Linked DNA regions of Homo sapiens: all the other regions are linked to region 1. Evidence: promoter capture Hi-C in human tissues and cell types (Jung and others, 2019). All regions are on one chromosome and are shown on one strand. The core of a region is centred on a gene start or on the middle of the fragment in contact, and the rest is flanking DNA. Distances in the headings are between cores, read along the strand shown.

Region 1 (3,076 bases), core at 577-3,076:
TTGCTATCCAAATGTTTGCTCATAAATTCCAATGTAGTAAATAAGGACAGTTTTGAAAGTCAGAAACTCTAAATTTCAAAAAAGCTTTATTTTTCTTTGGGTTTGTTTTCGTATGTAGTCTATTGTAGTCTATGCAGTGAACTTTGTCTTATATGCTTAAAAGGGCACTGATATTTGGTGGGCATTGGGGGGCGGGGAGTTACCTAACCAGTACTGAAAAGTTACTAAACTACCTGACACAGCTGAAACCAGGAAGGAAGGCTGTATCAGGAAGAGACTGAATATAGTCCTTAGGTGGATTTTAGTATTAGGTGACAAATTAGGTTGTATTGGACTGGCACTGTCCAATAGGAATATAATGAGGCTCACAAATGTGAGCCACATGTGTAATTTTACATTTTTAAAAATGCAAACCACATTTTTAAAAGGGGAAAACAAACAGGTGAAATTAACTTTAATAATATATTTTTTATATCCAAAGTATCATTTAACATGCAATCAACATGAAAATCATTAACAAGACATTTTACACGATGTTTTCTGCGCTGTCTTTAAATTCCAGTGTACATTTTACACATCCAGCAGTGGGCAATTCAGACTAACCATAATGCCGAGTGGTCAATAGCCACATGTGGCTAGTGGCTATCATATTAAATAGTGCAGGTTTGAACCAAAAATACTTCGCTTTGGTTGTTTTTTTTTTTTTCTTTTAGACGGAGACTTGCTCTGTCGCCAGGCTGGAGTGCAGTGGCAGATCTCGGTTCACTGCAAGCTCCGCCTCCCGGGTTCAAGTGATTCCCCTGCCTCAGCCTCCCAAGTAGCTGGGACTAAGGCGTGCGCCACCACGCCCGGCTAATTTTTTGTATTTTAGTAGAGACGGGGTTTCACCACGTTGGCCAGGATGGTCTCGATCTCCTGACCTCGTGATGCGCCCGCCTCGGCCTCCCAAAGTGCTGGGATCACAGGCGTGAGCCACCGCGCCCGGCCTGCTTTGGTATTTTTTAAGAGCAAGTTGGTAAATGGAGGCATTATATGGAGAGTGCTCGAGTATATATAGCACAGGTTAGAGCAGCACGCCGGCACCTTGAAGCGAACACGGGCTCCTCCACTCCCGTCAACACTGGGACTTTTCTGTTTTTATCTTGAGTTTGAGGCCGGGCTTCTTAGCAGACCTCAGTCTGAAACTGAAATAAACCTGGACGCAGCGTACCCTTGAATCGCAAGAACGCCGCCTTCAGTGTTTCTCCGGAGAAAAGCATTCACGCCAGGTTGTGACGAAAACATTTTTTGAGAACTCATAATGTTTATTCCTTGGATGAATCCATTATATTTATTTAGTGTCTCAGGAAGGATGATGGGCATATTGCTTGCAAAAGTTGATTTGAATCCTGATAGATTCCACTAACTTTTTTGTCTTTTTTTTTGGCTGCCTTCTTCGAGAATGGTGTCAACCCTTAATAACACCTAGCCTTACGAATCCCTGGGGTGATTCCCGACCTCGCCAGCTTTGTGGGGCTCCCCCGACTTGCCTACATTCCCTGGCAGCCTCGCAGCTTCGGGCAGATGGAGCTTCCGGCCTGCGCGCAGTGGTCGCCTGTCGTCCGCCCGCGCTCCCTTCGGCCGGAGGTCGGCGGCCCCGGGCAGAGCGCGCCGTCTGCCCCAGTATCGGGAGGCCAGTTCCGCGCTGGGCCCACGCCCTCCTCGCCCGCCGCTGCCTGCGCGCCAGGCCGGGTGGCGGAGCCGGCCGTCGCTGCTCCGAGCTCGGACCCTCCCCCGGGGTGATTTCGGCTTAGAAGGTGGAAATGCGGAAGTTTCCAGCGCCGACCGACAGACGAGGTTTGCGCTTGGCTGGGCATGTTCCGCGGCTACTCTGCGGCGCGCCAGGCCCCCGCTTTCCGCACCCCGCGACCCTAGAAGCCACCGAACCGCCGGCGGGCCATGGCCACTCTGCCGAGCGCAGAGCGCCGCGCGTTCGCGCTCAAGATCAACAGGTAAGACGCCCCCCGCGGCGCGCAGGTTGCGGCCGGACAGCCCAGCGCTGGTGTGAAGCGGAGCTTCGCTGCAGGGGCCGAGGCCGGACGAGTCCATTCGCGTCCGCGGCGGGGCGCGCCTGAGACCTGGGGCGCCCGGTTCCCGAGGCTGCGGCGGTGGAGCCGCTGGACGCGCGGCGGCTCCTGCGCTGGGCCCGGCGAGGTCCTCCCCAAGAATCTCGGTGCTCCTGGATGTCCTCAGCCGCCGGGGATCCCTTCCCCGAACAACCTCGCCCGCTCCGCCCTCCAGGTTCTTACAGGTGGCCGGGTCCCAGAAGGGTGATAGGCGCCTGGGTAACCGTGTTGGGCGCGCCACGGAGTGTCTCATAAACGGCTCCTTCCTTTGAGGCAAGTCTGAGCGCGGGGGGAAGAAGTGAAGTGGCTGAAATTAGAGTTGCGTTTGAGGCAGGCTGCAAGCCTTCTGTCGTCCTGAGCAAGGCTCCGTCCTCGCCTGCTTCATTATTCCAGAAAGAGCTTGGCTCCTGGTGGCATCGCTATTTTTATACCCTGGTCCAAAGGAGCCATGAAGTGGAAAAAGTGATTTTTTAAAAAATCTACACTTAAATAAACCAAAAGAAATGGCCTGTGGCTGACATTTTGAGATTTACAGAACTCCAGCAAAAAGCTAAGGACTGGGGGATCCCAACTCACCATCCAATTCCTAATCAAAGTTGCACAAACTAAATATGTAAGCACATTTACTGCTCAAAGTTCTCAGTAAAGGTGCTTTAACTGCAGTTTTTCCTCCACTAAAAACTGCTGACAAGTAATTGGGACATTTTTGTCTTGCCCTGAGAAAGCTAGACTGTCTAGTTAAAAGATAATAGGAAACTCATTCTAAAGTGTCAACTTATTCTATTGCCCACAGGGCTGTCCGATTTGTTAATCTTCACTTAGCTGAGCCTGTGAAAGGTGGATTCCACCGTAGGTTCATCTTTGTGCTGTTAGTGTGTGAAGAGGTTTGAACAAGGAATTAAAAGCCTAGAAAAACAAGGCGATAAGGTCTTCTAGAGGGCATATCGAGCTTTATTGACGATTTTATTTCC
Region 2 (3,043 bases), core at 197-2,696, 1.5 Mb after region 1:
TACATGTGGGCTTTTTCAGTTTTCACAGCTACAAGGTGAGGTTTGGCAGTGGGATCTTCCAAACCCCAGGTTAAACAGCAGGCTCTTTATTTTCATTTGAGGCACAAAGAAGCAGGAAGACCCACAAGTTCTATCGTGCCATTCCTGACATACAGACTCTGAAGTCAGTTCTTGCTTCATTTCTTGGAAAAATGTAGTTACGTCTGCAGAGCATAAATCTGTGAAAACACAAAATTAATACATCATATCCATCTTCAAAGTATCCACATTTGGGAATTGGGAAACTACAGTGAGTATTTTTTCTGCAACAAATCAGAGACTAAGCCAGACACTGAAGCCCCAGAATGCACCTGTGTTCAACAGTTCTATCTGCGGAGTAACCCGGCATGATCTACTGCACTAGCTCTTTCAAAGAGAAGCCTCAGAAGGGAGGAGAAGAATGTCTGAGGGTTTGTCTGGGGAAAAATAAAAGAAATAATTGTTCTAAAAAAAGGAGAAATTGGTATTTCACTGGCAGCCCAAGTTGCACAGGAACACTTTAAACTTCTGTGGCCGGTATCCTTCATCTGAAAATCACCAACTTGTTTAAAAAACCCTCATCTGGGGATTTAGTTGCCTGCAATCACACAACCTGAAACTGAGTGTGTCTAGATACCCATTTGTCCACAGCAGGGGGCCCTGGGGTACTCTGGTGGGCTGCAGCATGAATTCTGTTCACCAGCATATGCATGGGAAGCAGCTGAAAGAGAAATCCATTTTTCAACCTAAGTTATCAGCCATTAAGAAGAAGGAGGGACATGGAAATTAGATCATGATTTTGATGGGCCCCATGGTGTATGATAGAGGGGCCATTTCTGCCCCAGACTTGGCACTTGACCACGCTGTACATGGTCCCCAATTTTCGTTCCCTTAAGATAGAGATAACATGATCCTGTCTAAGAACAATACATGTGGCCATGGTGCACAGAGCTTTGGGGTATGTGTGTGTCTGTGGGTAATGAATCTAAAACCCTCCCTTCAAATTGAATTTGGTTTAATGTTTTTCAGTCTGCACCTACAGTATTTAATTTCTCTCTCATCTTTTTTAACTGTGAAATTGTACTCTTTCACTGGTAAAGCATTTTGGCATGCTGCAGGGGTAAATGGCATTGTGGAAAATAAAGCTGAGTTATGTTGTAGTAATAATATTAAAGCAGCTCAGAAAGAGGCTTAGTAGCATCTGGCATAGCGGGTGGCCACGTGGACTGGAAGTCAAGGACCTGAGGGCTCATCTTTATCCTACCACCATACCAATGTGTAACTTTAGCCAAATCATTTATCTTCCTTGGGTTCCTGGTTCTTTATTGATAAAATGGACAGATCATAGGTGGTATGCAAGATCTCTTTCCACTTCAGCAGATTCTGGTCTGCGTCACTTTGCAGAATTCTTTTATTCACCTGCAAACATTCACCTACCATTATGTGCCATTTACTGTTCTAGAGCTTGGGGATTCAGGAATAAATAAGCTATGGTCCTGCTTCCGTAGAATTCAGAGTCTAATTCAGGAGGGTCAGCAGTGGCATGAGGAATGTAAACATACATGAAAATGACTACAACACAATAGCTGTCAGAAATACGGAACTTTTAAGGACAGAGTAGTTAATTCTGGGTGCTGGAGTGAGCGGATCATGTCATGATTTGAAAGATAATATAACATTTATCTGGATAACAGGCAGGAAGTTTGCCAATTAAGAAGGATGGGATGTACAAAGATCACTCCAGGCTAGAAAAACCCCAGGTACAAAGGGACATAAGCCAGACATAGAATGGTATGTTTACAAGACAGCAAATAAACTAAAGGGGGAATGGTGGGCCATGATGCTGGCAAAAGTTAAATTGGGGTTACCTCATGCCTGACCATATAGAAAACAGGGAAGTAAGTTTAGTTATTGCCATGTAGTACACACAATACAGATTCGAAATAGGGAGCATTCGAATAGGGAGCATTCGAAATAGGGAGAAACTGTTGGAAAAAGAAATAGATGTGGTTGAGGGAAAAAGGTGAAATAATAATTCCTGTGGTAGATGAATTGAAAAAGATAAAAATATAATGATTTTCGCTTTCAAGCTTGGTGACTAGGTGAGTAGCAGGAATATTTCCAGCAGCAAGTGCCAAAAAATTCAACGAACGGTTATTTAAGCCATAACAGAATTTGTTATTTTCTTAATGGGAAACATGGAATGAGATGGTTTTGGAAGATAAAGCTTCTTTTTGGAATCAGTGTTTTCATCATGATCCAGAAGGCCTTATTCATGTTTGAAGCTATGTTTTGGGTGCATACTGATTAAGAATCGTATATCTACCTGGTAGACTGACTTCCATATTATTATGACATGCTACTCTCTATTGTTATTCTTGCCTTAGTTCTATATTTATTCTTGCCTTAGAGAATAATTGTGAAATATTAGTGCAGTTACATTGGCTTTCTTTTTCTCTTGCTAGAGTTTGCATGATATATGCTTTTATTTTGAATTTTTCTGTGTATTTACAATCAAGACATTTCTAGTAAGCATCATATAACTGGGTTTCATTATTTTATCCAGGTGATAACATTTATATTTTACATAGATTAGTTAATTTAAAGGTAATTTCAGACATATTTAAGATTTTTCTCTACAATCTTACGATTTTTTTCTTTTTGATCCTCCTGCTTTATGTTATTGTCTTTTGTTGATTTCTTTTAGAATAATCAAATATTTTAAGCATTTAATTTCTCCCTTCAAGATGGGTAGTTATATATTCTTTTCCAATTTTGGGGGAAGGTTACAATAGAGATTACATTTACCACTGACCGACTATAGTCTAAAACAAATTATTACCACTTCTTTTTGTTATTTAACATTTACTATTTATAGCCTTCTGCCTTTTGTGTTATCATTGTCATGTATTTTAATGTTATAACTATTTTAAATTTCACAAGATAATACTCATTATTCTGTACAGTCAGGATTTATATTTACCCACATTTTACCGTTTCTGTTGCTCTTCTTGCCTTTTTATAC
Region 3 (2,921 bases), core at 61-2,560, 1.1 Mb after region 1:
AGTTTTTTGGCCTGGTAACTGATGTGCTTGATTAACTAACAGCATCAAATGAAAGCAGGCCAGGGCTTGGCTGTGAATTTCACTACCCTCTGCAGACTCACCTAGAGTCCTCCCACGTTGAGTGGAAGCACAGGCTTCTGTCTTTCATGTGTCTAATCTGCTTTTCTACTGCACACTCTCTGGTTTCTCCCATCATGATCCCTGGGAAAGAAGGAAGGTCCAGTCTCTTTCTGCCCCTCAGGAACAGCCTACCTTATTCTCTCCTTGGCTTCCTGCAGCAGCCAACGCTTCAGGCTTAGAAAGAAAAAGAAAACCCTAAAGGAGAGTGACATCTGCCAGAATGATTATTCCCACATTTAAGGCCTGACTTGGGTTAGCATGAATTGAAAGATCAACAGGCATGTATTTTTTTTTCTGAGGAAAATGTATCTTTCTTATTCTTTTTTACTGGGTGGGGTAGTGGGATGTGTATGGGAAAATCCAAAGACAGGGTGTACTGTGTGTTTCAGAGCTGTATGAATATGAGATATAATCCAGGAGTAGAACTCATGTCTACTCTCACCCCTTAGGCCTCTAGCGGAATTTGTGGAAAATGAAAATAAGACTTGAAATATTCCAGATATGGCTCACTGAGGCCACTTCTTCTTCTTTCTTTTTTCTTCTTCTTTCTTCTTCTTCTCACTTTGTTGCCCAGGCTTGAGTGCAGTGGCACCATCTTGGCTCACTGTGACCTCCACCTTCCGGGTTCAAGTGATTCTCCTGCCTCAGCCTCCCAAGTGGCTGGGCCCACAGGCATGTGCCACCACTTCTGGCTAATTTTTAGTGGAGATGGGGTTTCACCATATTGGCCAGGCTGGTCTTGAACTCCTCACCTCAAGTGATCTGCCCCTCTCAGCCTCCCAAAATTCTGGGATTACAGGCGTGAGCCACTGCGCCCAGCCCTCACTGAGACTTCTAATGTAAGTTGCTAACCTTGACTGAGTCAGTATTAAGTACTAGGTATTGTGCATGTACTTCATGTGCATCTTCTTTAATTTTTACAGGAACCCTGGGTGGCAGGTACTATTGGCACCATTTTCCAGATAAAGAAAATGAAGTTCTAAGCAGTCAAATGACATGTCAAGATCACCCAACTGGTAAGCGACTTAGGGGGTATTCCTGCCTTCCTCAAAGATGTTTGGGTTCCCCCAGTGAGGATCTCATAACATTGTTGATAGACATGTCAAGACACCCTCGAGTATACTAGCTGCAAATGTCCTGTCATACATCCCTGGTGCCACATGATGGTAGGCATTGTTGAGAACAGCTCCAACACCAGGGAGGAGGACATAAGGCGTATATGTAAGGAGCATCTATGATAGAATTCAAAACAAGCAGGGCACAGGCAGAGGGTCTTCTATAGTATTCTTTCATAACTGGGATACCTGTCTTCTTGTGAAGAGGACAGCAGCTACTTTTCATTTTTCTGAAACCTTAAGATTGTAGGGAGGCCAGGGGCTTGACAAAGCAAGCATATGTGTGTGAAATGTGTGTGTGACACAGACTCAGGTCTGTGTCAGTGTATGTGTGTGCAAGGGCACTGATGCTGGTTGGAATCCTTTTCCATCCAGAACCCAGTAAACCTCAGAGAGGGAGGCTTCTTGGCTAGACTCTATCTGACAGGACAGAGAGATAATGGTAGCCATTAGAGGGGATTCCAAGATAATGATTGGAAACCCAGCTTCATAGGCTCACTCATTTCACAAACCCAGAACTATGTCATGGACCAAAGAACACAGGGACAGAGTGAACTATGAGAAAACTTGCATATCTAGGCAAAGGCTGAGGGAATTTCCGAAATTATTTCTAATAAGATGTGAAAGTTAGGCTTAAAAGATACTTGATCTAGTATGTTCATACTTCATGTAGCTTAGAATAAGCTATTCAACAGTAAACTGCATGCTCAACTTGAGTAAGGATCTCTGCTCTACTGCTTTATAAATGAGACGAGAATGTGGTTTGTGGCATCAGCATCAAATGGAAGATTGTTAGAAGTGCAGAATCTCAGGTCCCATCCAAGACCCACTGAATCAGAGTCTGCATTTAAAAAAGATCCCCAGGTAGGTTGGATGTACAGTGATGTTTGAAAACTACTCTGCTAAAACATACTAAACAATAGCACAATGTGCCAAAGATATTGATTAGTAGTCTCAACCCTGGCTGAATATTCCAGTCTTTGGGTGGCCCCACTCCAGACCAATTATATCAGATTTTTTTTTTTTTGGAGTAGAGGCCAGGCACTGGCATTTAAAAAAACTTGTAGGGTGCAGCTAAGATTGACAGTGCCCTGATTTAGATGGTAGGTGCCCCACATGAGTGGGTAAATGTTGCTTTATTGACTGGAGTTCTGAAAGAGTTGGCCCTGTGACATGGTATTACTTAACGTGTCTGTTAGTGATTTAGGAGAGTACATATAAGACATCCTGATTCCATCTGCCAATGATAGGGGATTGCACTATATTGCTAGCTAACATCCTGAAATTCAGCAGGATTAAAATGCTAAGTGATTGTGACAAGAGTGGAAAAAGTGTGGACAAGTGTGAAGGTCCTACTGATTCTCAGAGGACATTCATCCATTCATAACAAGAAATTGTCCAGCGGTCAAAGTGAAGAATGGCTCAGCAATGGAGGGCTGTGATTAAAAAGGCAGAGAAAAATAAGAGCATGAGAAATGTAGAGGAGAAACAAATCATTACATAGTCTTCCCCTGGTACTTGATATTGGTTAGGACTTTCTATGGCATCACCCAAGTTAGGATGCTGGAATTGAAGTGCAATTATGATGAGCTTTGGATATTTTCAGGGGAGAATAATAAATATCAGGCATAAAAAAGCAAAAGAGGCTGCTTTTATTTAGTATGCTGAAAACAAGACTAAGGGGAG
Region 4 (2,852 bases), core at 161-2,660, 1.5 Mb after region 1:
CTGAACAATAATTTGGAATCAAAGGTATTTGAGAATGCCAATTATTAAGAAAAATTCTTTTCTCAGGATCACCATAGCAAAGAAACTCCTAGAAATGTGGTTATGCCAGTTCTTGCCTTCCATAATTTAAGCTGTCTGTACCTTTTTGTTGGAAGTAAGCATTTTGACCAACCTGGTTTGATATTCCACGTAGTCCTGTGAGAAGATGGGGAAAATCTGTGATAGAGGTTCCTGGAGAAAAAAAAATCTCAAGCCTGTTAAAAGACAGGGCAGATTCACCTTTGAACAGGATTACATCATGTGTATTCAAGGACTGGGGCCACTGCACTTCTCCTCTTAGTGGGAAAAGACCATTTGACCATATCTTGACTTTCTTCACCTTTAGGTGAAGAAAGTAGAGATTTTGACTGATGACATAATAAAAGTTGAAATTTGGAGACTGAGTTAAAGAAGGGAAGGCCTCTTCTTGATGTTGACGTGATAGGAGACATACATACACACAGACACACACACACACACACAGACACATACCTTAGATATTGTTTGTTAAGCAAAAGATTGTGAATTTGAAAGAGCCAGCAGCTACTCTACTACTTGCAGATGCTATTTAGCACTTCTAGTACTGTTATTTAATGTTTTCATGTCCAGTCACTTCAACTACATTGTAAGCCCCTTAAAATCAGGGATTAGCTATTTGATGCTTCTCCCAGTGAAAGTAACACATGGCCTCACACTGTGATGGAAAACAGTCTGATATAAGGAGAAAAATCTTACCTTAGGGGAAAAGGTATCTGGGGAAGGTTACTTCACTATTTGTAAAATCAGAGAGTTAGACTAAAGAAAGAAGCACAGAAGGGAGAAATAAACATGCGAGAGGGCAAATAATCCATAGGCTCCCTTGTATCATTCTCAAGTATGCATTAAAACTGGTTTTGATTATCTATTTTTTATTTACAAAACTTGTTTTTCTCAACCATATTGCAAGACAAGGTCTCTTACACATTTCCATCAGCTTTTTTTAAAAAAACCTTTTCTTTTCTGGGTTATGTTAATTATCTTAGTTATTCACCAAAATACCTCCAAATTGCCTAAGTGCATTGTAGTTTGAGTACATACTTACATGTTCATTTAACAAATAATGTTCAAGTGCCTACTTCGTGCTATGTATAGTCCTGAGTTTATGCATTTCAATTAGACATTAATGGTAAATATCAAGAAAAGTTGTGGTGAAGATTTAAATGTTAATAAAAGAGATGCAATATATCAGGTCATACATAGCTGAGGGTCCTGGAGGGAAGCATTTTCACTGGGCAGAGACTTTCTTGGGAAATACACAAGGGAAAATCAATCACATTATAGAATAAAAATTGGAAAATGACTAATTTGGAAAGGTTAGTTTTAGAACTGGAATTATTTGATCTCTAGAGGGAAAGATTAATGTTTAATGTCATAAAGTCATAAAAGCCCCAATGATTTTCTTCTTTTATATAATTTCTCTTCTAATCAAAGTAATGCACATACTTAGTTTAAAAAGGCAACTATTAATTACTGAAAAATAATAATTTTCAGCCCATCTCTCCATGTCTTGACACCTATCAAAAGCATATACTTTTGCTTATTTTATCTATTTTTAAATATTTAATAGTATATCATGTTTAAGTCTGGATTTAAACAGTTCTGCTTATCTATTTTTTATTCCCAAAACTTGTGCTCTCAATGAAATTGCAAGCTCCTGGGGTACAAGGACCTTGGGTGGCACTCTCTCCCTCATGGTCCCTGTACTACACTGCCAGGCAGACAGAAGATAGTCGCTGTTTGTTGCTTGATCAAATGTGGCAACCTTTCCTGAGGTTCCTCTAAATGCTCAAATGGCGGTGAGGATCAGTGGCCTCCCTAAGCAGCATCAGAGTTGGGGAGATTATATTAGAAGGGAGGATGATGGAGTGGGAATTTGGAATTAAAAGATGTTTGTTTGAGTTCTGTCTCACTTTTGCCTCTCTGGGTTTCAGTTCCTATCTGTAAAACAGCATTATCAGTTGTTTCATATAAAAGTTTTATTGTAAGGCCGGGCGCGGTGGGCCACGCCTGTAATCCCAGCACTTTGGGAGGCCGAGGTGGTAGGATCACAAGGTCAGGAGATCGAGACCATCCTGGCTAACACGGTGAAACCCCATCTCTACTAAAAATACAAAAAATTAGCCGGGCGTGGTGGCGGGCGTCTGTAGTCCCAGCTACTCGGGAGGCTGAGGCAGGAGAATGGCGTGAACCCGGGAGGCGGAGCTTGCAGTGAGCGGAGATCGCGCCACCGCACTCCAGTCTGGGCGACAGAGACACCTTCTCAAAAAAAAAAAAAAAAAAAAAAATACATTTTAAAGGGAACTAAATGAGATTTACATATACAACTGTAAAATGGTCCATAAATTAATCATTTGTCATTCTTACACTGTCCAACAGAACATCCTGTGAGGATGAAAATGTTGTATATCTGCTCTATTCAATATTGTAGCCATTAGTCACTAACTACATGTAGATACTGAGCACTTCAAATGTGATTGATATGACCAAGGAAGTGAATTTTAAAATGTATTTAATTTTAATTAATTTCAATTTCAATAGCTGATTTGGACAGCATAAATTTAGTCTACACAGAAAGGTAAACCAGGAGTCACAGCATCTGGACGACTTCACACTGACCTAAACCAAAATGTGAAAACAGATGGGGTCCTAAGAGGCTTACATGAGCCCCCGATGAAGGAATAGTAGAGAGTAGAAAGGGATGAGCCAAGTGGAGCAACACAAAGGGACGGAAATCAGCTTATATTTCTTTCCTCTAGTTCCACCCTTCTAGCACA

Evidence for each region. Contacts are between HindIII fragments. The study calls those that stand out against the background at their distance.
Region 2: a fragment that was not itself captured here is called in contact with the fragment with the promoter of DOCK8 in region 1 in 1 of the 25 tissues and cell types used here (dorsolateral prefrontal cortex).
Region 3: a fragment that was not itself captured here is called in contact with the fragment with the promoter of DOCK8 in region 1 in 1 of the 25 tissues and cell types used here (dorsolateral prefrontal cortex).
Region 4: a fragment that was not itself captured here is called in contact with the fragment with the promoter of DOCK8 in region 1 in 1 of the 25 tissues and cell types used here (dorsolateral prefrontal cortex).

The regions. Positions count from the first base shown.
Region 1 is chr9:213,039-216,114 of GRCh38, forward strand. It overlaps DOCK8 (dedicator of cytokinesis 8), which reads left to right and starts at 1,827. Exons shown (of 48, transcript NM_203447.4): 1 at 1,827-1,991. The coding sequence starts at 1,939. DOCK8-AS1 (DOCK8 antisense RNA 1) reads right to left here and starts at 2,712. Exons shown (of 1, transcript NR_160804.1): 1 at 419-2,712. RefSeq lists silencers at 1,582-1,831, 1,842-1,891, 1,942-1,991, 2,162-2,301. The HindIII fragment of the contact is 11,669 bases long and covers 1-3,076 here.
Region 2 is chr9:1,680,001-1,683,043 of GRCh38, forward strand. No RefSeq gene overlaps it. Among named protein-coding and RNA genes, the nearest start is that of SMARCA2, 330 kb to the right of the region's middle. The HindIII fragment of the contact is 3,787 bases long and covers 1-3,043 here.
Region 3 is chr9:1,309,897-1,312,817 of GRCh38, forward strand. It overlaps LOC102723803 (a long non-coding RNA gene), which reads left to right. Exons shown (of 7, transcript XR_929415.3): 3 at 1,044-1,136. Among named protein-coding and RNA genes, the nearest start is that of DMRT2, 260 kb to the left of the region's middle. The HindIII fragment of the contact is 5,282 bases long and covers 1-2,921 here.
Region 4 is chr9:1,702,835-1,705,686 of GRCh38, forward strand. The region is part of intron 1 of LOC105375951 (a long non-coding RNA gene); the gene reads left to right. Among named protein-coding and RNA genes, the nearest start is that of SMARCA2, 310 kb to the right of the region's middle. The HindIII fragment of the contact is 5,902 bases long and covers 1-2,852 here.